6 separate regions of the Homo sapiens genome follow, and all the other regions are linked to region 1. The links are contacts of gene promoters, found by promoter capture Hi-C in blood cells and fetal thymus (Javierre and others, 2016). All regions are on one chromosome and are shown on one strand. Each heading gives the region's core, a stretch centred on a gene start or on the middle of the fragment in contact. The rest is flanking DNA. Distances are from core to core; before and after follow the strand shown. Region 1 holds the start of RARS2 (arginyl-tRNA synthetase 2, mitochondrial). Region 2 holds the start of PM20D2 (peptidase M20 domain containing 2). Region 3 overlaps RNGTT (RNA guanylyltransferase and 5'-phosphatase). Region 4 overlaps RNGTT (RNA guanylyltransferase and 5'-phosphatase). Region 5 overlaps RNGTT (RNA guanylyltransferase and 5'-phosphatase). Region 6 overlaps RNGTT (RNA guanylyltransferase and 5'-phosphatase).

What was found. Contacts are between HindIII fragments. The CHiCAGO score rates a contact against its expected background, and 5 or more counts as called.
Region 2: the fragment with the promoter of PM20D2 here is called in contact with the fragment with the promoter of RARS2 in region 1 in 1 of 17 cell types (total CD8 T cells); the score reaches 5.0 in total CD8 T cells.
Region 3: a fragment that was not itself captured here is called in contact with the fragment with the promoter of RARS2 in region 1 in 2 of 17 cell types (fetal thymus and total B cells); the score reaches 6.3 in fetal thymus.
Region 4: a contact is called between a fragment that was not itself captured here and the fragment with the promoter of RARS2 in region 1, in 1 of 17 cell types (M0 macrophages). The highest score is 5.2, in M0 macrophages.
Region 5: a fragment that was not itself captured here is called in contact with the fragment with the promoter of RARS2 in region 1 in 1 of 17 cell types (erythroblasts); the score reaches 5.1 in erythroblasts.
Region 6: a fragment that was not itself captured here is called in contact with the fragment with the promoter of RARS2 in region 1 in 4 of 17 cell types (total CD8 T cells, total B cells, naive B cells and 1 more); the score reaches 6.3 in total CD8 T cells.

The regions. Positions count from the first base shown.
Region 1 is chr6:87,588,308-87,591,778 of GRCh38, forward strand. It overlaps RARS2 (arginyl-tRNA synthetase 2, mitochondrial), which reads right to left and starts at 1,680. Exons shown (of 20, transcript NM_020320.5): 1 at 1,615-1,680. The coding sequence starts at 1,650. ORC3 (origin recognition complex subunit 3) reads left to right here and starts at 1,828. Exons shown (of 20, transcript NM_012381.4): 1 at 1,828-1,885. The coding sequence starts at 1,862. RefSeq lists enhancers at 810-1,771, 1,535-1,764, 3,145-3,471. The HindIII fragment of the contact is 3,839 bases long and covers 1-3,373 here.
Region 2 is chr6:89,144,525-89,147,995 of GRCh38, forward strand. PM20D2 (peptidase M20 domain containing 2) reads left to right here and starts at 1,531. Exons shown (of 7, transcript NM_001010853.3): 1 at 1,531-2,085. The coding sequence starts at 1,621. LOC101929004 (a long non-coding RNA gene) reads right to left here and starts at 2,342. Exons shown (of 4, transcript XR_942766.4): 1 at 1,169-2,342. RefSeq lists a silencer at 1,348-2,277. The HindIII fragment of the contact is 3,355 bases long and covers 590-3,471 here.
Region 3 is chr6:88,958,337-88,961,807 of GRCh38, forward strand. The region is part of intron 1 of RNGTT (RNA guanylyltransferase and 5'-phosphatase); the gene reads right to left. Among named protein-coding and RNA genes, the nearest start is that of RNGTT, 3.5 kb to the right of the region's middle. The HindIII fragment of the contact is 994 bases long and covers 1,376-2,369 here.
Region 4 is chr6:88,907,873-88,911,343 of GRCh38, forward strand. All of the region lies in intron 4 of RNGTT (RNA guanylyltransferase and 5'-phosphatase), which reads right to left. Among named protein-coding and RNA genes, the nearest start is that of RNGTT, 54 kb to the right of the region's middle. The HindIII fragment of the contact is 2,707 bases long and covers 308-3,014 here.
Region 5 is chr6:88,887,353-88,890,823 of GRCh38, forward strand. It overlaps RNGTT (RNA guanylyltransferase and 5'-phosphatase), which reads right to left. Exons shown (of 16, transcript NM_003800.5): 8 at 3,143-3,244. Among named protein-coding and RNA genes, the nearest start is that of RNGTT, 75 kb to the right of the region's middle. The HindIII fragment of the contact is 2,242 bases long and covers 430-2,671 here.
Region 6 is chr6:88,869,740-88,873,210 of GRCh38, forward strand. The region is part of intron 8 of RNGTT (RNA guanylyltransferase and 5'-phosphatase); the gene reads right to left. Among named protein-coding and RNA genes, the nearest start is that of RNGTT, 92 kb to the right of the region's middle. The HindIII fragment of the contact is 4,616 bases long and covers 1-3,471 here.

The sequences.
Region 1 (3,471 bases), core at 430-2,929:
CCAAATAACTTAATCATTCATTATAAGAACTTCATGAGAAATCTATTAGCTTTTCACGTTTTTTATTTTTATTTTTTGTTTACAGGGTCTCGCTCTGTCACCCACCCTGGAGTGCAGTGGCACAATCATAGCTCACTGTAGCTTCAAACTCGTGGGTCCGTCCAAGTGATCCTCCAGACTCAGCCTTTCAAGCAGCTAGGACTACAGAGGTGCACCATCATGCCTGGCTACTTTTTAAAAAAAATTTTGTTGAGACGGGGTCTACCTATGTTGTCCACGCTGGTCTCGAACTCCTGGGCTCAAGCCATCCTCCCACCTTGGCCTCCCAAAGTGCTGGGATTATAGGCATGAACCACATGCCAGGCCTATTAGTTCTTCCAATAGAAAACCTCAATAGTTTATGCCTTAAGGCTTCTTGCACTCTTTGCTTTTCCTATCAATCTTAAACCGCTGTATCAGATCAGAGTCCAACCCTAATCAAGCCATCTTCCTCCAACACCCTCCTACCCTCTCCCTCTGAAAGACCAGCCTTAAGCCATACCCATCAGTAAAATCTGACCTTGCTTTCCCAGTTTAATACACTACCAAAGCTCTCAGTGGTGTTCTTCCTTATCCCAGTGAGCAATAAATTCAGCTGTCTTAACAAAATGTCATGTTGGTGATATTTGGCGAATTATCACCGGACAGGGCAGTACATCTATAAACATAAAGACAAGGCAGAGGGATTTCCCCACAAATGTCTAGAAATACTGTAAAAATGAGCCAAGATAAATTATACACCAGGCTAATTACGTCCACTAGTACATCCATTAATCAGAAGGAAATGGGTTAGCCAAGACCACAATAGAAAGTTTCCTTGCAAGGGTGGCCAATGAGTCTTAAAAATTCTTTTTGATTAATTCCACATTTATACTGCAATTTTGCCCAGCGCGGTGGCTCAGGCCTGTAATCCCGGCTCTTAGGGAAGCAGAGGAGGGAGGACAGCTTGAGCCCAGGAGTTTGAGGCCTGCCTGGGCAATACGGCGAGACCCCGTTCTCCACAAAAAGGAAAAACAAAACAAAGCAATTATATTGCAATTTTGTAAGCCCTTCCTCACAACAGAGCTGTTCAAATACGACCCTGAACCAAGAAAAACTGAGTCTCAGATAGCTCTTATATCTTTGGGCGTTACCAAAAACAATTCTAGGGTAGGCTGCCTAAGTGACTGCAAGAGAAATAAGCAGCTTTAAAATGAGGTCCTTCTGAAGAACAATCCAGATCCATCATCAATGTCACTAAAGTGTAAAGAACACTAACTTCTATGGGGTCTAATCATGGTCTAATGACTTGCCGCCACCCAGGTAAAGCATTCATAGCTGTGGGGTGGGAAGGAGAGAAGAAAGCACCAGGTACCTTTCAAAGTTTACTTTTCACCGAGACAAACTGATCCCAGCCGACGCTCCACAGGACTTCTGAAGCTCCACCAGCTCCAGAGAAGGGGGAGGAGGTGGTAGAAACTAACAGGATTCCGTGGGACCCACCCTCCAGCTGACTGAGGACTGGCCCGCAGCGGTGAAAGGCCTTTGGGGTCCCTAGCTCCTCAGGGACTCCTCTGCGCGCTCCGGGATCCATACCTGGCAAGCAATAGCGCGGCGAAAGCCGCACGCCATGTCCACCTCTACGGAAGTGCGCCGCAGTCCGCCAGTTCCGGCCTCGCCCCACCTCCTTATACGACCCGCCTCCCCGCGCCGGAAACCCGCCCCGGAGGGTGATGCCAGCCAATCAAGGAGCCGTGTGGCTCGCCACTAACCTCTGCCCTGCAGCCGCGAGGGCGCGCGGGAAATCCCGAGTGCATCTGGAATACGCAGAGTCAGTAAGACCATGGCTACGTCCTCGATGTCTAAGGTATGTGGTGGCCGATGCGCACTGTGGCTCTACCGCTGCCTCATTCCCCTTTGAAGAAGGGATGAAGCCGAGGTTACGTAGGCATCCCTTCCCTGGCTGGAGAGGAGGGAGGGAGCGGCGTACTGAGCTGAGGCGTCCTTGCTCCAGATCAGTTGAGGCCAACTTTGCTTGGGGAGCGAGGACGCGGATCTGCCTTGTGGTATGGCTAGGAGGATTTTTAAGTTCTGGTTGGTGGAGGTCGGATGTCCTGATGATGTGGCCCAGTCTCTCATTTTTCCATCTCACAAATACTGTGCGCCAAGCACTCCGTTAGGTACCAAGATGCAGTGGTAAACAAAACAGATTCAGTTTCTGCAGTCAAGAAAGTCGGTAAACATAGATAAACTGACGATCACAAATTTTAAGTGTTAGCAAGGAAAAGAGTTCTAGGCAGACAACAGAAGAGTGGGAAGAACCTAATATAGGTTGTCGGGGGTTAGCGGAGGCTTTTTGGAGAAAGTGACCCTTTCGCTGAGACCTGAAAAATGAGTAGAAGTTAGGTTAAGGATTAGGGCGAGGAGGGCAGAGAGAACAGCATGTTTCTTCGGCCCAGAAGATAGAAATAAAATGGCATATTAGAGGAATTTAAAAATCATAATCAGAAAGTAGACAAAGAGTGGGAGCGTCATGAAAAATGAGAATGAAAAAGTAATGTGGATGCGGGTGTGTGTGGTGGGATATCTTATAGACCTCCTCATGTTGGCTACCTAGATGGCAAGAAATTGCAAGACATAGTGTAGTTGGTAAGAAGATAAGCCCTAGAGCTGTATTGTCCAATGTGTTAGTCACTCACCACATGTGGCTATTTAAATTTGAGTTAAAATAAAGTAAGATTAAATAAAAATTCAGTTTCTCCGTTGCACTAACCACATTTCAAGTGCTCAATCATCACATGTGGCTGCAGCTACCATTTTAGATAGTGCAGATATAGGACATTTCTATCATTACAGAAAGTTCTGTTGGACAGCGCTGTTCTGGACCACAAAAAGTAAGACCTTGAGTTCTATTGTAAGTGCAGCGGGAAGCCCCTGAAGTTAAGCTGTCTGAGAAAGCTGAAAAATGCACATGAAGAAGCTACATTCTCCCTATGTTAAAACAATGGATTGATGAAGAAGGCTATGTCATGGATCTGATTTTTTATTTTGATTAAAACGGTTTATGAGAAGCAGTGCTTTTAAAGACTACATCTCAAGGAAAAAGGACAAGCCCTGGGGTTTAAGGTTATGCTAGTAGAGATTCAAAGGTAGTATTTTTATTAGAAATGGTACTGGTTTTATTTTGTCCTGGTTATAATGTTCTGTAGGTTTTGAATGGTCTATCCCTTAATCCTGTTGATTGCATAAGCACCTCTTATTTTTATGTATCTTGCAGAAAGTAAGATTTTTCAGGAAAGCATTTTTGGTATTATAACAAATGTCTGTATTGGGATGAGACCTTACATGAATAAGAAGCTTTAAGAACTATTTCATGAATTTATGGAACTGCAAGCTTTTTTTCTTTTTCTTTTCTTTTTTTTCTTGAGACAGAGTCTTGCTCTGTTACCAGGC
Region 2 (3,471 bases), core at 281-2,780, 1.6 Mb after region 1:
CAGTGGGTCCACTACTTACTAGCTCTATAATCTTGGACATACATCTGTAAAATGAAGATAAATAACCACATTAACCACCTCATAGTTTGCTGTGAGGATTAAATGAGTTAACAAATGCTAAGCCCTTGGAACAGTGCCTAGCACAGAGTAATTGCTCTACAAATGTCACCTATTGCTTTTGCTCTCCAATCCCCCCTTCTCCCCTTTTTTTAGCCAACTAACTGAGCAGGATAATATTGGATCTCGTGGATACAGGGTAATTTTCTTCAGCAGAATACCAGAGAAAGATTTATTATCGCCAAGGGGGCCCAGGAATTTAATAACACATTTGTTGTTTTTAGAGCTGAGTTTTTGTTGGAGTGTTAACTGAGAAAGAAAGTTTTCAGACGTGAATGGAATGTGACATTTACTCTGGTATTATTAGCATATAGAGTAGTAAAAACAGTAGTTGATAGTCTTCGTGCATGTTAGCTTCCCTTAGACTTATTTTCAAAATATTCATTTGGTTTATCACATTAATATATTGTGTCCCATTTAACATAGTTGAGACAAATTAAGGAAAGATGATAGGGTATGAAGAGCTGATAGAAGCTTTTAATATGTGGAAAACCTCAGAATATAAACATCTACAGTGTTATTAATAGGCATACCGTCAACAACAGTTTTTCAGACTTTGTGGTTCACTCTGGAGAAAAACAAGAGCATGACATCTTGAATTTCTTCACTGGGTAATTAAAAAACTCAGTTATAATGTAACACCAGCTGCACATATCATGTTAGTGGAGTTCAGCATCAATTAAAATTATAAACGAAACCTGTCATATGTTCCCTTTCAAAGCTGTTCAAGACAACTGTCCAAATCAACAAAACAGTATGAATATTTACTACCATAAATCTTTTAACTCTTTGGTTTTAACTCATTTCAAATTTTTAGTTCTACTCTATTCAAATAAATTATTATATAATAGCTAATACATACCAAGAGCTTACTGCATAATCTAGCTGCTGTTCCAGACATTAGTAACCAATGAGAAAACTGTAGAGAGTAGCTGCAGCTTTTAGTAATACAATGTCAAGGAGAAGAAAGTGGGGGCAGTACCGAAACTTACGTACAGTACCGTCGTTAGTACAGCATTGACACTGACGGCCTCCTTCAGGAAATACAAACCTTGTGAGGTTTTAATTACTAATGCTACAGAGTGGCGTTTTTCCGAGGACTGTGTTCCACTTGGTCTGTCTCTGATGGCTATTAACTAATAACCGTTCTCATTCTGCTGCTGTGGGAAATAAGCAACAACGGAAAAGTAATCGATAATCTTAGAGCATAACTCAAAGGCCAGAGCAGCCAAGGAGGTGGAAGAGTCCCGAGCCCTGCCTTCTCCACAGCACCCCCAAAACCCCACGGCGGGGCAGAGCGCCTGGTAGGGTACGAGCGGCCGCCAGCGTTTCCCGCGCGGCGCCGGGGGCGGCCCCGGGACTGGGGGTGGTGCCCTGGGAGCTGTGTGGCCGCGTGCGCGCTCCGCCGGGGTCCTGGAGGCCTCTGGGCGCGTGCGCGGGCGGTCGCTACCTGCGGCCGAGCCAGGGAGCGAGAGGGCGCAGAGGGCAGCGGGCTTGGGCAGCATGAGGCCCGGAGGGGAGCGGCCCGTGGAAGGGGGCGCGTGCAATGGCCGCTCCGAGCTGGAGCTACTGAAGCTGCGCTCGGCGGAGTGCATCGACGAGGCGGCCGAGCGGCTGGGGGCCCTGAGCCGCGCGATCTGGAGCCAGCCCGAGCTGGCCTACGAGGAGCACCATGCCCACCGCGTGCTGACGCACTTCTTCGAGCGGGAGCCGCCCGCGGCCTCCTGGGCAGTGCAGCCGCACTACCAGCTGCCCACGGCCTTCCGCGCCGAGTGGGAGCCGCCGGAGGCCCGGGCACCGAGCGCCACGCCACGCCCGCTGCACCTGGGCTTCCTCTGCGAGTACGACGCGCTGCCCGGCATCGGCCACGCCTGCGGCCACAACCTCATCGCTGAGGTCGGGGCGGCGGCCGCGCTGGGCGTGAGGGGGGCCTTAGAGGGCCTCCCCAGGCCGCCTCCGCCCGTGAAGGTGAGGTGGGGCCCGGGTGCGGGACCCTATCCGACTGCCCGGGTCGGGGGCGACCCGGGAAGGGCGGGACTCTCGTGCGTCCCGCGCGCCTCGGTGCCCTCCCGCCCGGGGCAGGTGTGTGTGGGACCGCGCTAAACCTGCGGTCCTCGCCTCGGCGCAGGAGCAGAGCTGAACCCCCAGTCAAAGTCAGTTCGCGTTGCCGACCTGGCGACATCTTGCAGATTATTGTTTCCTCCTCTCTAGTTATAAACAGCTCTGCTGAGTTGTTCCCTTAGGAAAGAACTTACACCCAAGCCTGGTGTTTGTTACGGGTTATTTTTGGTAACTGAGAGAGGCAACAGCAATTTGCTGACAAGGTTGTGCCATCAATCTCAGGAGGAAATAACTTCTTGTAGGTAATCCTACGGCCCCTTTTTATTCGTCTCCAAATAAATCTTTTGTTTGTGGCAGTCCTAGAAAATGTGATTCAAGTCATTGGTATTTGGATAGGAATTTTCAGTCGCTAGAACCACCAGACCCCTAGAAGTATACAAATAAAGGGGAAGTGAATGAGCATTATACATAGATGAGTTCATCCTTAAGTCTTAATTTTTTTGTTTTATGATTTTAAGAAATACCTCGACTCTTTAAACAGGGAAATGTCGTTTATGTTTGTCGTAGGGCAAGTTTAATCCTGTTTTACTCTGCTTTTCCAGATGGTATATTCTACACTATGAGCTAAGATTCAATCGTCATTCAGTTAAGGGGAAAACAAATGTTTTATTTTCATACTCTTTAGTTCATTTCCCCCAGTGTCAGTAACCTTCCTCTTTTATCCTAACACTACATCTTTTGTGGCTTTTTCACTTTAGCTGCCTTCTTTTTTCTGTCTCTGGAGGCTCGTTTTTGCATTTGTTAGGTTTTTGTTTGGGTTGGGGGAAGCATGCTTTGCCATGTCACAAACACTGGAGAGATTTCGCTTCAACCACGTTTTTAAAGGTTCTGAGTAGTCAGCGAGAGACATATCGTATTTAATGAGTTAAGGGTCAAGAATGAAGAGCGGTGGGCAGATCAGTTGAGGTCTGGAGTTCGAGACCCGCCTGGCCAACATGGTGAAACCTCTGTCTCTACTAAAATATATTAAAAAAAAAAAAATTAGCTGGGCGTGGTGGCTCACGCCTGTAATCCCAGCTACTCGGGAGGCTGAGGCAGGAGAATCGCTTGAACCCAGGAGGCAGAGGTTGCAGTGAGCCGACATCGCGCCACTGCACTCCATCCTGGGCAACAGAGCGAGGCCTCCTCTTAAAAAAAAAAAGAGCGGCGGCTTCATGTCAGAGTTTGAGCACTGTAGAACCGCCAAAAAAAAGCTAAACTTTGAGAAATGTACACTCTTTTTTTTTTTTTTTT
Region 3 (3,471 bases), core at 623-3,122, 1.4 Mb after region 1:
AAGCAAATGCAACAAAAACAAAAATAAATAGATGGAACCTAATTAAACTAAAAAGCTTCTGCACAGCAAAAGAAATAATCAGCAGAGTAAACAGACAACCCACAGAGTGGGAGAAAATCTTCGCAAACTATGCATCTGACAAAGAACTAATATCCAGAATCTACAAGGAACTGAAACAAATGAGCAAGAAAAAAACAAATAATCCCATCAAAAAGTGGACAAAGGACATGAACAGACAAAAGAAGATATACAGTTGGCCAAGAAGCATATGAAAAATGTTCAACATCACTATCAAGGAAATGCAAATTAAAACTACAATGAGATACCACCTTACTCCTGCAAGAATGGCCATAATTAAAATATCAAAAAATATTAGATGTTGGCATGAATGTGGGGAAAAGGTAACACTTTTACACTGCTGGTGGGAATGTAAATTATTACAACCACTAGGGAAAACAGTATGGTGATTCCTTGAAGAACTAGAAGAACTACCATTTGATCCAGCAATCCCACTACTGGGTATCTACCCAGAAGAAAATAAGTCATTATCTGAAAAAGCCACTTGCACAGGCATGTTTACAGCAGCACAATTTGCAATTGCAAAAATGTGGAACCAGCTTAAATGCCCAAGAACCAATGAGTGGATAAAGAAAATGTGATATGTATATATACCATGGAATACTACTCAGCCATAAAAAGGAATGAAATAATGGCATTCATGGCAACCTAGATGGAGTTGGACCCCATCATTCTAAGTGAAGTAACTCAGGAATGGAAACCCAAATATCCTGTGTTCTCACTTGTAAGTGGGAGCTAAGCTATGAGAATGCAAAGACATAACAATGATATAATGGACTTTGGGTACTCAGGGGGAAGTGTGGAGAGGGGGGATGAGGGATAAAAGACTACTACAGTGTACACTCCTTGAGTGACAGGTGCACCAAAATCTCAGAAATCATCACTGAAGTACTTATCCATGTAACCAAAAACCACCTGTCCCCCAAAAACTACTGAAATAACATAAAAATGTTTTTTAAAAAGATCTTTACTAAAGATCTCTATTTGAGCAATCAGGATCTTAATATCTCCTCCAACCTGCTTCTCTCTCAGTAAGCCCTAATAATATCAACTATCTCATGTGCATAAGCCAGACATTTGAGACTAAATTTTGACCCTCTTTCCCTCATTCTAAATACGACATCAAGTTCTGTCCATTTTCCCTTCTTAATATCTCTCAAATTAGCCTTCTACTCTTCATCTGTCACTTTTAAACTATCACTATTGTCTTTCACCTGGACTACAACAAGTTCCTAATTAGTCTCTCCATTTCCACTCTTTTCTCCATCAATTCATTAAACACAGAAAAGTCAAAGTAAGCTTTTAACTTGGATTCAAATAATCTCATCTCGATGCTGAAAAAAAAAACTGCAATTGTATGCCACTGAAAATTTAAAGCATATAAATATTAGGATACCTTATCACACCCTACTTGCCTGTATGATCAGGCTATTCTCCAACCTCTTAACCTCACTTACATCTTCCAGAACAAAGACACTTTTTCAGTCTATTATCTCTCCCATCATCATCCTATCCTAACAGAAACTTTCAATAACACCCCCTGCCAACTATTTATCTAGAAAACTTCTATTTACTGAAGATAATTCATGTATGACCTTCTCTGGGAAGTCTCACCTGATCTCCTTCTTCCTTCCCATCTCTTCTTCCTCAACCTCAAAGAATTAGGTTTATTACCTCTGATTCCCATCATATACCACAATAGAGTCATTGCTACATTTTTTACAACAGAACTGTGCTTAAAATGGATGGTTTGCTACTCCCATGAGACTCTGCTTTTTAAGGGTAATATATCTTAGCCATCTCCCTAGCACCCAGGACTAGCACAAAGTAGACATTTAAATATTTGCTAAATAAAATGACTTCAAAATCACCATCACTATCACCATCACACTATCCTGAGTACCTGGGACCACAAGTATGTGCCAATGCACCTGGCTGTGTCTCATATTTACATTCCCACAGTTCCTAGTAAGCTCTTTACATAGCAGATATGAAATAATTTTATGTTGAATGATATATCTTTAAGAAACTAGGGAGGGCTGGGTGCGGTAGCTCACACCTGTAATGCCAACACTTTGGGAGGCCAAGGCAGGCGGATCACCCGAGGTCAGCAGTTGGAGACCAGCCTGGCCAACATGGTGAAACCCCATCTCTACTAAAAATACAAAAAAGAAAAGAAAAGAAAAGAAAAAAAGGAAAAAGGAAAAGAAATTATAAGTTTGTTTTCTTCCAAGTATTCACCTGAAATCTATTAACTCAGAAGGAGGAAAAAACAGTTCTTCAGAAAATAAAGCTTGGCCCTGTCTCCAAGAGCTCTCTCTCATTGCAAGTCTGGTTTCATCAGAGAAAGTGACTTCACAGAGAAACAAATTATATGTAGTTAGTACCATTTTCTTTCTGATTCAGGAAAATTATGAACTTCTAGTACTAGTAAAGTGAATCCTAACATTTACAACATATAAGTTTGAGCAGCCATAACATTTTCCTCAATATGCAAAATATCAAAGAAATTACTGTGATGGTTAATACTGAGTGTCAACTCGATTGGATTGAAGGATGCAAAATATTGATCCTGGGTGTAGAGGGTGTTGCAAAGGAGATTAACATTTGAATCAGTGGGCTGGGAAAAGCAAACCCACCCTTAATCTGGGTGGGCACCATCTAATCAGCTGCCAGCATGGCTAGAATATAAAGCAGGCAGAAAAATGTGAAAAGACTTGACCGGCTTAGCCTCCCAGCCTACATCTTTGTCCTGTGGTGGACGCTTCCTGCCCTCAAACACTGGATTCCAAGTTCTTCCATTTTGGGACTCAGACTGACTCTCCTTGCTCCTCAGTTTGCTGACAACCTATTGTGGGACCTTGTGATCGTGTGAGTTAACAGTTAATAAACTCCCCTTTACGTCTGTATGTGTGTGTGTGTATGTATGTGTGTGTGTGTATATATATATATGTACATATATTTCCTATTAGTTCTGTCCCTCTAGAGAACCCTTACTAATAAATTACACGATAAGTACAAATTACTTTTTTTTTTTTTTGAGATGGAGTCTCACTCTGTCACCCATGCTGGAGTGCAGTGGTGCAATCTCAGCTCACTGCAACCTCCGTCTCCTGGGTTCAAGTGATTCCCCTGCCTCGGCCTCCCGAGTAGCTGGGATTACAGGCACATACCACCACGCCATCATAGCTTTTTGGCTATTCATATAACTTATTTTGTGAAGTGTCCAAATTTTTTGCTAGTTTTTAAGTCCTTTGAATTTCTTCTGTATAATACATTGATGGTGGGACTATCAAGTGTTACCACTTTGGAAAAGAGGTTGGCAGTTTCTTAAAATTCTTAAAACATACACCTACCATATGATGCAGCCATTCCTCTCCTAGAGACTTACAC
Region 4 (3,471 bases), core at 411-2,910, 1.3 Mb after region 1:
ACTACAGGCTCACACCACCATCCCCAGCTAATTTTTTTCTATGGTAAAGACAGGGTCTCATTATGTTGCTCAGGCTGGTCTCAAACTCATGGGATCAAGCAATCCTCTCACTTCAGCCTCCCCAAGTCTGGGATTACAGGCATGAGCCACAATGCCCAGCCTGTATCTTTCTAATATTACCTTCTACAAATTATTCTTCTCTGTATATATAGATCATACTGATACAGTGCAACTAAGATCAAATATAGAAATAAACTAGCTAGATTTACAAAACTTCTAGAAGAAAATACAGGAGTAAATCTTTGCAAGCTTAGAGTAGAAAAAGTTTCTTAGATAAAACACAAAAAGCATAAAATGAAGAAAAATACTGATAAATTAGACTATTTCAAAATAGCAAGGGTTTGCTCTTTGAAAGACATCATTAAGAATATAAAAAAGAGTTCTAGGCAAGACGGCCAACTACCTACAGCTGAAAAACGCCTCTTCCATGAAAAGGAACCAAAATATCAAGTAAGCCACCACACTTTGAACCACCAAAACTTGACAATACAAAATCCTGCAACTTTGAACAGATCTTTTGAGAGAAAACACTGAAAGCCAATAGAGAGGCAAAGCAGACACAGTGTTTGAAGAGGGAAGAAGCGACGTAGACTGCTTGGAGTAACTAGGCACCAGGACTGGCCCCCAGTTCCAGTGTGGACCTAAGGGAGGGCTGAGTAAAGGAACCCTGGGGCACCACACTCCCACCATGGTCCTCTGGGATCCTAGCTACAAGATTCTAGCCATGAGCCCCACAGACCACGGTGCAGCTGCAGCAAAACACCACCATAGGGCCCATCCTCCAAGGCTCTCCAGCTTGTACTGAGTGGCTGCAGGTCCTGCTATCTGCAGGGCGAAGAGAGTAAGACTGCCACTGCCATAGGACCATAGTGTATCTGATCCACATGCCCCTTTGCCTGCCAACTCTTCAAAGACTGCCTGCCTGGCTGCTCCTGCAAGACAGTGCCCACAGAACAGCCTCCACTTCCCTGCCTGAGTGTTCTGCTGGCAGCCTGCTGGCTGATCCTAAGGGGCCAGAGGACAAATGTGCAGGCCTGGTCCCACTTCCCCAGGACTCAAGCACACTGCCCAGGGGTATTGAGTTAAGCTCTGTGGCCTGAGCTTGGGCAGGAAAGGAGCCTTCACTCTCAGAATACAGAGAAGAGTGTGGCATGGAAACTAAGCAACCTCTCTTCAGAAGACCAGTCCAGGATGGGTGTGGCCTGACAGCCAGCCAAGGTTTCTTCCCCAGGAAGCTCCGTGGCTTGGAGCATCTGAAATGGCTCAACGAACTGGGCACGCAGGGCTTTTGAGACAAGCCTGGCCAGTCTGGTTGCGCCTGCTCCTGAGACAGACATCAGACAGAGACCAACCAGGTCAGGGGAGTGCAAGTTGTGAGGGCCACACAGCCATCGGCTGGGCTGCAAACCCGGGCCATGGTCACTATACTGGCTACACACACATACGGTGCCACTTCCCTGCCTGAGGATCTACCACCCTTGCTTGACCCACTGCATTACCAGACCACCTGCAGACATACCCCACAACCCACTCTTACTGACAAGCACAGGGGACTGGTAGGTCCCTAAGGAGTTTCAGGTCTCCTGGTGGCCTAACCCTTGGCTTGAATCATATCTAAGCGAGCAGGAAGAGAAGCCCACCAAAGCCCCACACAGAGCAAAGGAAACGTGAGACAGTGCCAGTAGCTGAGGGGGATACCACCAAGGCTTAAGAACAGACTATGAGAGAAAGTCATCTCTTACCCTGCGTCCTCTCTCCAGAGCACTGCTGAGGACACAATGAAATACAAAGGGAGCATGCGCAGCTGTGTAAGAGCCTATCTGCCCTTATATTTAAGCACCAACTGCAGCTTGAATTACACAGCAAAACAAAATACACTGCTTCAACATGCAAAGCCTGTGAAACCCTCATAGAAACCTATCTACAACCAAGGAACTCATACAGAGCCTTGGCCCTCTGAAAGCACCCAGAAATGAAGCCAACTGACTATACACAACATTTACCACCATCAAACTCTCAAGGGAAAAAAGAATATTTAAAAAAAAAAAACCCATTCAATCAACAGCAAATTCAAAAACAAAAAGAAGGACCAGTTCCCTCAGATGAGAAGTAATCAGTGCAAGAACTCTGGCAATTCAAAAAGTTAGAGTGTTTTGTTATTTCCAAAGGATTGCATATACTCCCTAGCAATGGATCCCAACCAGAACGTAATGTCTGAAATTATAGACACAGAATTCAGAATATGGATGGCAAGGAAGCTCAACAAGACCCAAGAGAAGGTTGAAATCCAATCCAAGGAAGTCAGAAAAACAATCCAAGATTTGGAATATAACATAGCTATACTAAGGAAGAACCAATCTGAAATTCAATTCACCACAGGAATTTCAAAATACAATTAAAAATCTTAACAACCGGCCTTATAAGAGATGCTTAACAACAGACTAAACCAAGCAGAGGAAAGAATCTCAGAGCTTGAAGACCAATCCTTTGAAGCAACTGAGTCAGACAAAAATAAAGAAAAAGAATCTTCAACAAATGAACAAAGCCTCTGAGAAATAATAGGATTACATAAAGTGACCAAACCTACAACCCACGATATTCCTAAGAAGAAAGAGTAAGCACCATGAAAGACATATTTGAGAATATAATCCACAAAAATGTCTCCAAAGTTGCTAGACAGGTCAACATGCTAATATAAGAAACTCAGAAAACCCCTGTACGGTACTATACAAAACGACCATCATCAAGGCAGAGTCATCAGACTTTCCAAGGTCTATGTAAAAGAAAAAATCTTAAAGACAACTAGAAAAAGAGTCATATCACCTATAAAGGGAACCTCATCAGGCTAACAGCAGACTTCTCAGTAGAAATCTTATAAGCCAGAAGAGACTGGAGGCCTATATTTAGCATCCTAGGAGAAATTCCAGCCAAGAATTCCATATCCCACCAAATTAAGCTTCATAAGCGAAGGAGAAATAAAATCTTTGCAGGATTAGCAATTGCTAAGGGAATCTGTTACCACTAGACTGGCCTTACAAGAGATGCTTATGGGAGTTCTAAACATGGAAACAAAAACAGTATCTGCTACCACAAAAATACACGTAAGTACACAGCCCACAGACCCTATAAAACAACTACACAATCAAGGCTACAAAGCAACCAGCCAACAGCACCACCGCAGGAAAAAAATCTCACGTATCATTAACCTTGAATGTAAACAGTCTAAACACTCCACTTAAAAGACACAGGGTGGCAAGTTGAATTTAAAAATGAAAAAAATAAAAAAAGACCCATCCTTCTGCTATCTTCAGGAAACTAACTCATACCCCCAGCCTCAAAGTAAAGGGATGGAGAAAGATCTATCATGCAAATGAAAAACAAAAAAGAGCAGGGGTTGCTATTCTTGTTTCA
Region 5 (3,471 bases), core at 301-2,800, 1.3 Mb after region 1:
AGACCATTCTACAGCCTCCTCAGGCTCTTTTCACCTTATTCAATCACAGAAAGTCCCTCTTCCATGCTACTGTACTTAAATCCTAGTGCGCAAAAGATAGATTTTACACTGGCCCAGAAACACCTTGCAAAATTTTTTCTCTCCCAGAAAAAAGTATCCTAAAACAGAGTAGGTATTCAATAAATACTCAGGGTTTTCCTTTTGTTTTTGGTGGAGCCTGGTTCTAGGAGAAATTAGATATTTCCATTAGCAATCAAAAACATCTTAACCAATTACTTCATAAAAAATTACTTTAGCCAATCATCTAGGGGTCTAACAATACCAACACACAGAGAAAGGGGTACACAACTACAGAGGAGGAACAAAATCAACAAAAGTTGGATGGCAGAAACAAGAGACAAATTTTGCAGGCTTTATTATTTTGCCCAAAGCTTACCATGATACTGTGAAGAAAGCAATGCAGAAAGTAAAGAGTATATAAGGCCAGATGTGGTGGCTCATGCCTGTAATCCTAACACTTTGGGAAGCCAAGGCAGGAGGATCACTACAGCCCAGGAGCTCAAGACCAGCCTGGGCAACATGGCAAGATCATATCTCTACAGAAAATTTTAAAAATTAGCTGGCCATAGTGGTGCATGTCTGTAATCCCAGCGACTCTGGAGGCTGAGGTGGGAGAATGACTTGAGCCCAGGAGGTCAAGGTTGCAGTGAGCAATCACTGTGCCACTGCACTCTAGCCTAGGCAACAGAGTGAGGACCCTGTCTCAAAAAAATAAGATAATAAAATAAATTTCAACAGAAAAAAAAAAGAGTACCTAAAATATGAAACTCCTAAGAGGTTAAATGTATGCCTCAATCCCAAATCCCCAGTTCATTTCGTAGTGTAAAGCCTAGAGATAGACACCTTGACCTCACGTTTTCCACTCTTTCTCCACCCACAGAAGTAAGACATTTGTTAAGACATTTTTACGTATCTATTAAAATGTATGTCTCAACAACATCCTTAACATCCTTACTACCAATTTAATAGATTCTGAACATAATCTAACCCAACATATTAAATAAATATAATTTTAATATTCTGAAAATAAGCAGAAAGGCTAATTTTCATTTATCCATCAAAAACACATATCCACAGGGAAGGGTGCAGAATGGGTAAATGATCCAAATTCTGTTTATGGATCTATATCTTTCTTTGTATAACTGCTGCAAGCACACAAGGCACATTTTTTCATTTCTACACTGTTTCAATTTTGCATTATACATTATTATTAATTTTTAAGGCTAGTTCATTAAGGAAGTTCAAAATAATATGAACAAATAAACATATAAATATCAAATACTTGTTATTTAACTACTTGAATTAGTACACAAAGCATTAATAATAAAAACCACAGGCCAGGCACGGTGGCTCACACCTGTAATCCCAGCACTTTGGGAGACCAAGGCAGGTGGATCACCTGAGATAGGGAGTTCGAGACCAGCCTGACCAACATGGAGAAACCCTGTCTCTACTAAAAATACAAAATAAGCCAGGTGTGGTGGCACATGCCATAAACCCAGCTACTTGGGAGGCTGAGGCAGCAGAATCGCTTGAACCTGGCAGGCGGAGGTTGTGGTGAGCCGAGATCGTGCCATTGCACTTCAGCCTGGACAACAAGAGTGAAAACCCGTCTCAAAAAATAATAATAATAATAAAAACCACACCTGCCATATAACCCAGAGAAAAAGGTCAATACCATAAGGACAGTAGTGATAATCTCTAGGTGATAAAATTTCTTTTTTATTTTCTTCTTTTTTAATGTTATTTTCTGAATTTTGTCAAATGAATATGTCTTACCTATAAAATACCCTAAAAAAGCTAAAAAATGCTAAACTGAGGGGAAAAATTGTTTCCAACAGAGGCAGACAATTAAAATGAATGAAAATATTTTTAAATATTCCCAATAAAAATCAAATATAATAAAATACTTAAACATTCTAGAAAGCATATAATGTTAAAATATCATTATAGTCACCTAATAATGAAAATAGGTTGTATCTGCTCCACTTCTTTTCTCCATATATATCTTTTAAGGTAACTACATGTTAAATGGAGATGGAGATGGCATGATACAAAGAGTATAACTGCCACTTAAGACTTTCCAAAACTCATAAAAATTAAATAGAATCTGTCATCTTCAAAATAACACTTAAAAGCTAATATATATGTACTGCCAGTTATTCCAAAACATTTTATTATGAAATAGTTAATGACTTCTATGTTAATATCTGTTAAAATAATTATTTCAACTTGCTAAATGAATACATACATATAGCAAAACTGTAATAGATGCAAAAAAATATGGATTACAAAAGAAAAAAATAAAATGTTGCTGAGGAAGAATAAAATTTCTACTAATATCTTGACCAGCCTGGGCAACATAAGGAGACTTCATCCTTACAAAAAATTTAAAAAATAGCCAGGCAGGGTGGCACATTCCCATAATCCCAGCTACTCAGGAGGCTAAGCTACTATTCAGGAGACTGAGGTGGGAGGATTACTCGAGCCCAGGAGTTCAAGGCTGCAGTGAGCCTTGATCGTGCTAAGGCACTGCCGCCTGGGTGACAGAGCAAGATCCTGTCTCAAATTAAAAAAATCTTAAAACTTAGAAATATAAAATTTGAAATTAAGCTTTGTTGTAATAATGCAACAACCTTGCGAGTATATAAAGAGAATAAGGCAAATTATTCAAAGGAGAATACAGAATGAATCAGAGAGAGTTCATCATTTTTAGATTACAAACTGGCAATTTATCTATTAACCTCAACATGTCCAATATCATTAAAAAACAAGGCAGTGGGCAGCAGACATACCAAAAACCATATCATTAAGAGAAAAACACTTTCAAACTTAACATCTAGTTATAGATTTATGTTAAACTAGCTAAGCTCTGAAACCAAAAATTTAGCAGAATGAGAGATAACTTGTGCTATACAGCTTAGAACACTAGCAAAACCAAAAATATATAATTTTTGAAACATTTATTTTGCTATTCACATTAGAAATTCACACTCTCAAGAGTGTAAACTTTTCTAACAATAAAACAATATTCTTCAAGCATTAGGGTTATTTGTGTAATTTTTTTAGAAGTCTAACTTACCGAGTACCATCTGCTTTCCAGCTTACTTTGTATGGCTTCAGGTCTAAAAGTTTAATATTTTGCTTGTCCATGGAAACAGGCTGTGCTCCAGGGAATCCAGACCTTAAAGAAGAACACAGTATTACTATCGTGGCTGGTATCCATACAAAGCAATACATGTCTTAAACCAATCTCAAATGAATCACACATTTATCACAATGTTCTCCCTATGATGAGATTAATGTCAGCTGGAATAACATCCGCTTTCACAAAAATACTAATAAAAGATTATCATTTTCTTGACATTTTAGAATGCAAGTTAACAGAGTTCTAAATTACCACTGCTATGG
Region 6 (3,471 bases), core at 626-3,125, 1.3 Mb after region 1:
GAGACTATAAAAATAAATATATTATGGACTCATAACATTAAGGCAACTACCAAGGCCACATCATAGAGCAGTCTCAAAGTTCAGCTGCTTAAAGGCTGTAATTTATGCAGCAATTTGATTTGTTCTAGTTATATATTATATCCTGCAACTCTAGCCAGTAGTTTACATTCTATCAGGCTGACATAAGATGTAAAAGACCTAAATGCCATTCTAGATAATTCATAGGGAGACAAAATTTAGTTTTCTGCCCATGCAAAAGTATTTTAAAAATTAAATTTCTAAATTCAAAAATGTTACTAAAATAAAATGAGTCCAAGGAAGCTCACCTGCCAGCAAAAATAGCAGCAACATTAAATCTGGGCTGAAAGCCAGAGTGATACTATACTAAGATGGGCCACCTATATAATCTTCAAATCAGACTTCACAATTTAAAAGCACTGTCAGAATTGCTCATTTTCTGATTTCTTTACCTAGTTCACATGTTACTGCCTTTTGAGAAGCAAATTACCATCAAACATGCAAAAACCAAATGTAGTTCCTCCAGAAAATAAAAATCCTATATATGATTTTAAAACATATGGTTATAGAATTTTTTCCCCAAAATATATCATTAGGGCACATATATAAAAATTACTGTTCCTCATATACCACATACAAGTCAAATAACTTTTCTATCCTATGAACATAAATTTCACTGCCTATAAATAAAAGAGCTACATTCCAACATCATGTTTTTCTATTAGACTCCTTTGCTCCCAACACAATTAAGAGCAAAAAAAAAAAAAAAAATCCAAATGGGATAAAAGAGAATCTTCATATCATTCTTCCCTTCTGAGATTTCAACTTAAGAATGTCTCAGTTTCCTGATACAGAAAAAACACTTCTAGGGACTTTAATACGGCTACATTGTTTTTACCAAAAAAGGTCCAAAATGGCACTTTAAGGTCATTTGCAAATATAATAATTCAGATGCAATGCACAAAAGAACATACCAACATTGTCAAAATGGCTATGCTTTCAGTAATGCTGTATATATGATCCCACTAATCCTTACTAAATTCTTAATAATCCCCAGCTAATATTCTGGGTTGTATTATAAAATAGATGTCCAATGCACTGGATACCATTAGAATTCTACTGCTTCACAAAAGCAGTCTGAATTAAACCTGGTCCTCTGCTGCCATCTAGCGAAGTCATAAGATCCCAAAATGAAATCAAAAGTGACAATTGTTCAGATCTATTCAATAAATCATTAAAATACATTAATTATTTCAGAAAATGCTGTTTGTAGTTTTTACTACAAAAACTGCTACAATAATAAATATACTGGAGGATTTTGCTCCAAAGAAAATGTATGCATATTTCCATAAATGTATTCTAGAGTATACAGACCATAGCAATAAACTCCTATAATAAGCTATCAGATGAATAATTACTCATTCAAAAAAGTTATTTAGAATAATATTATCATGGTATTCTTATAAAAGCAAAACTTTCAAAACAAGCTAAATTTACAACCACACAGAAATTTTCAAAGTATGATGCACTTATACAATGGAATGTTCCATACAATAGAATGATTCTTCCCAAGACACTACTGAAATAATAGCAGAGTTTTTTTTTTTTTAAGTATAAAGCTATATGGTCCTGAAAAATATGTCCTGAAAGTCCACAAAATTATTTGACACTCTTAACCTCAAGAGATGGAGCTTAATTCCCCTCCTTTAAGTTTGGGCTAGACTTATATGTTACAACAAATAGAATATGGCAGAAGTGGATTGTATGTCACCTCTTGGGCTAGATTAGATTAGATTATAAACAGACTACTACTTTTATCTTGGGTGTTCTCTTAGATCATTTGCTATAAGTAAAGCTGGCTGCCATATGGTGAGGACACTCAGGCAGCTGTGAGAACCCACTCGGAACCCCAGAGCTGGTATGAAGATTATTTTAACCAGAAGACATTTGAGAGTCAACAAATGCAGAAAGGTGGCTGTTCAGAGCTTTCCTTATCTGACTAAAAGCAGAAACTTCCGGGAATTAAGCTACCATAAATCCTTTCTTCTAGGTGGCTTCACTCCCAGAAAGAAGACTGAGAGTAAAACTATCATAAATCCCCTCTCCAGGAGTTTATGGCCACGAAGAAGATGGAAAAGACCATTCCCCCCCATAAAAACAAACATTTCTTACCTCCTATTTGTTCCTCTAAAAATCCACTTATCCTTCCTAAAGAATTCCATTTTTTTTCTTACACTGAAGCCTATTCTCCACCTTCCCTTTCCACCATTAAATTAGACATACAAACTTGAGACATTAAGTTAGGAATACAAACTTTAGGCATAGTCCCATTAAGTTAGGAATACTAACTTCAACCATCTTGTAAGCCACTTCTTTTATGTGCTTCCATACACATATAAACTTTGTTTTTTCTCTTGCTAATCTATGTTTTGTCAGTTTAATTTGTAGGCCCCTAACTATTGAACCTAAGTGGGTACAGGAAAGTTTTTCCTCCCCACTGGTAAGAAATGGAGGTCTCATGCCAACAGCCAGCTGAGGAACTGAGGCCTGCCATCAACCATACACATGAGCTTGGAAGTGGACCCTTGAAATGACAACAGCCCTGGCCAACAGCTTGACTGCAATCTGATAGACGACATTGAACCATAATCACCCAGCTTAATAGGTACAAAAAAAAAGAATAAATGAATAAGACCTACTATTTGATAGCACAATAGGGTGACTATAGTCAACAATAACTTAACTGTACTTTCCAAAATAACTTAGAGTATCATTGGATTGCTTGTAACAAGGGATAAATGCTTGAGGCTATGGATTTAAGAAAAACAAAAAAGACTCACCCAACCACACTGCTCCCAAGAAACGATGAGACAGTAAATATTTGAATTTTAAACTGTTATATTTTGGGGTAATTTTAGGGTAATTTATTAGAAATGGCTATAACAATGAAGATAATGAAGGGAAGGAGAAAAGAGCATCAGCAGATGCACTATTTCAATAAATTTCTGGTTGACAAGAAATAGACGGAGAAGTACTGAAAAGTGCTGAGAAGCATGCACAGAGGTAGCAGGATTCACAGATGGAGGTGCCTATTTTACAAAACCCCAAAGAAGATCCAGACCCAGAAACATCAAGTGCACAGGATGACTACAGTGACATATGGACTGAAAAGGAGGGATTGGTTATTTTTAGCTATGTACAACAATTAAATTCTCACAACTCATACACACAACACACAGGTTATTCCTCAAGCAAAAGAAAAGAAAAATCAGAGAGCTCTTCTCTAAAGAAACTGAAACAGGGTGGGAGGGTGAACAGAAAAAAAAAAGAAAGAAAGTAAAAGAAACTGAACCAAATGGGTAGTGAGGGAAGAGCACCTAAGCACAACTGCTTATCATAAAGCAAAGGTCAGAAATTGACAAACCCAGCCCACATTCATGGAGCTTCCAAGCA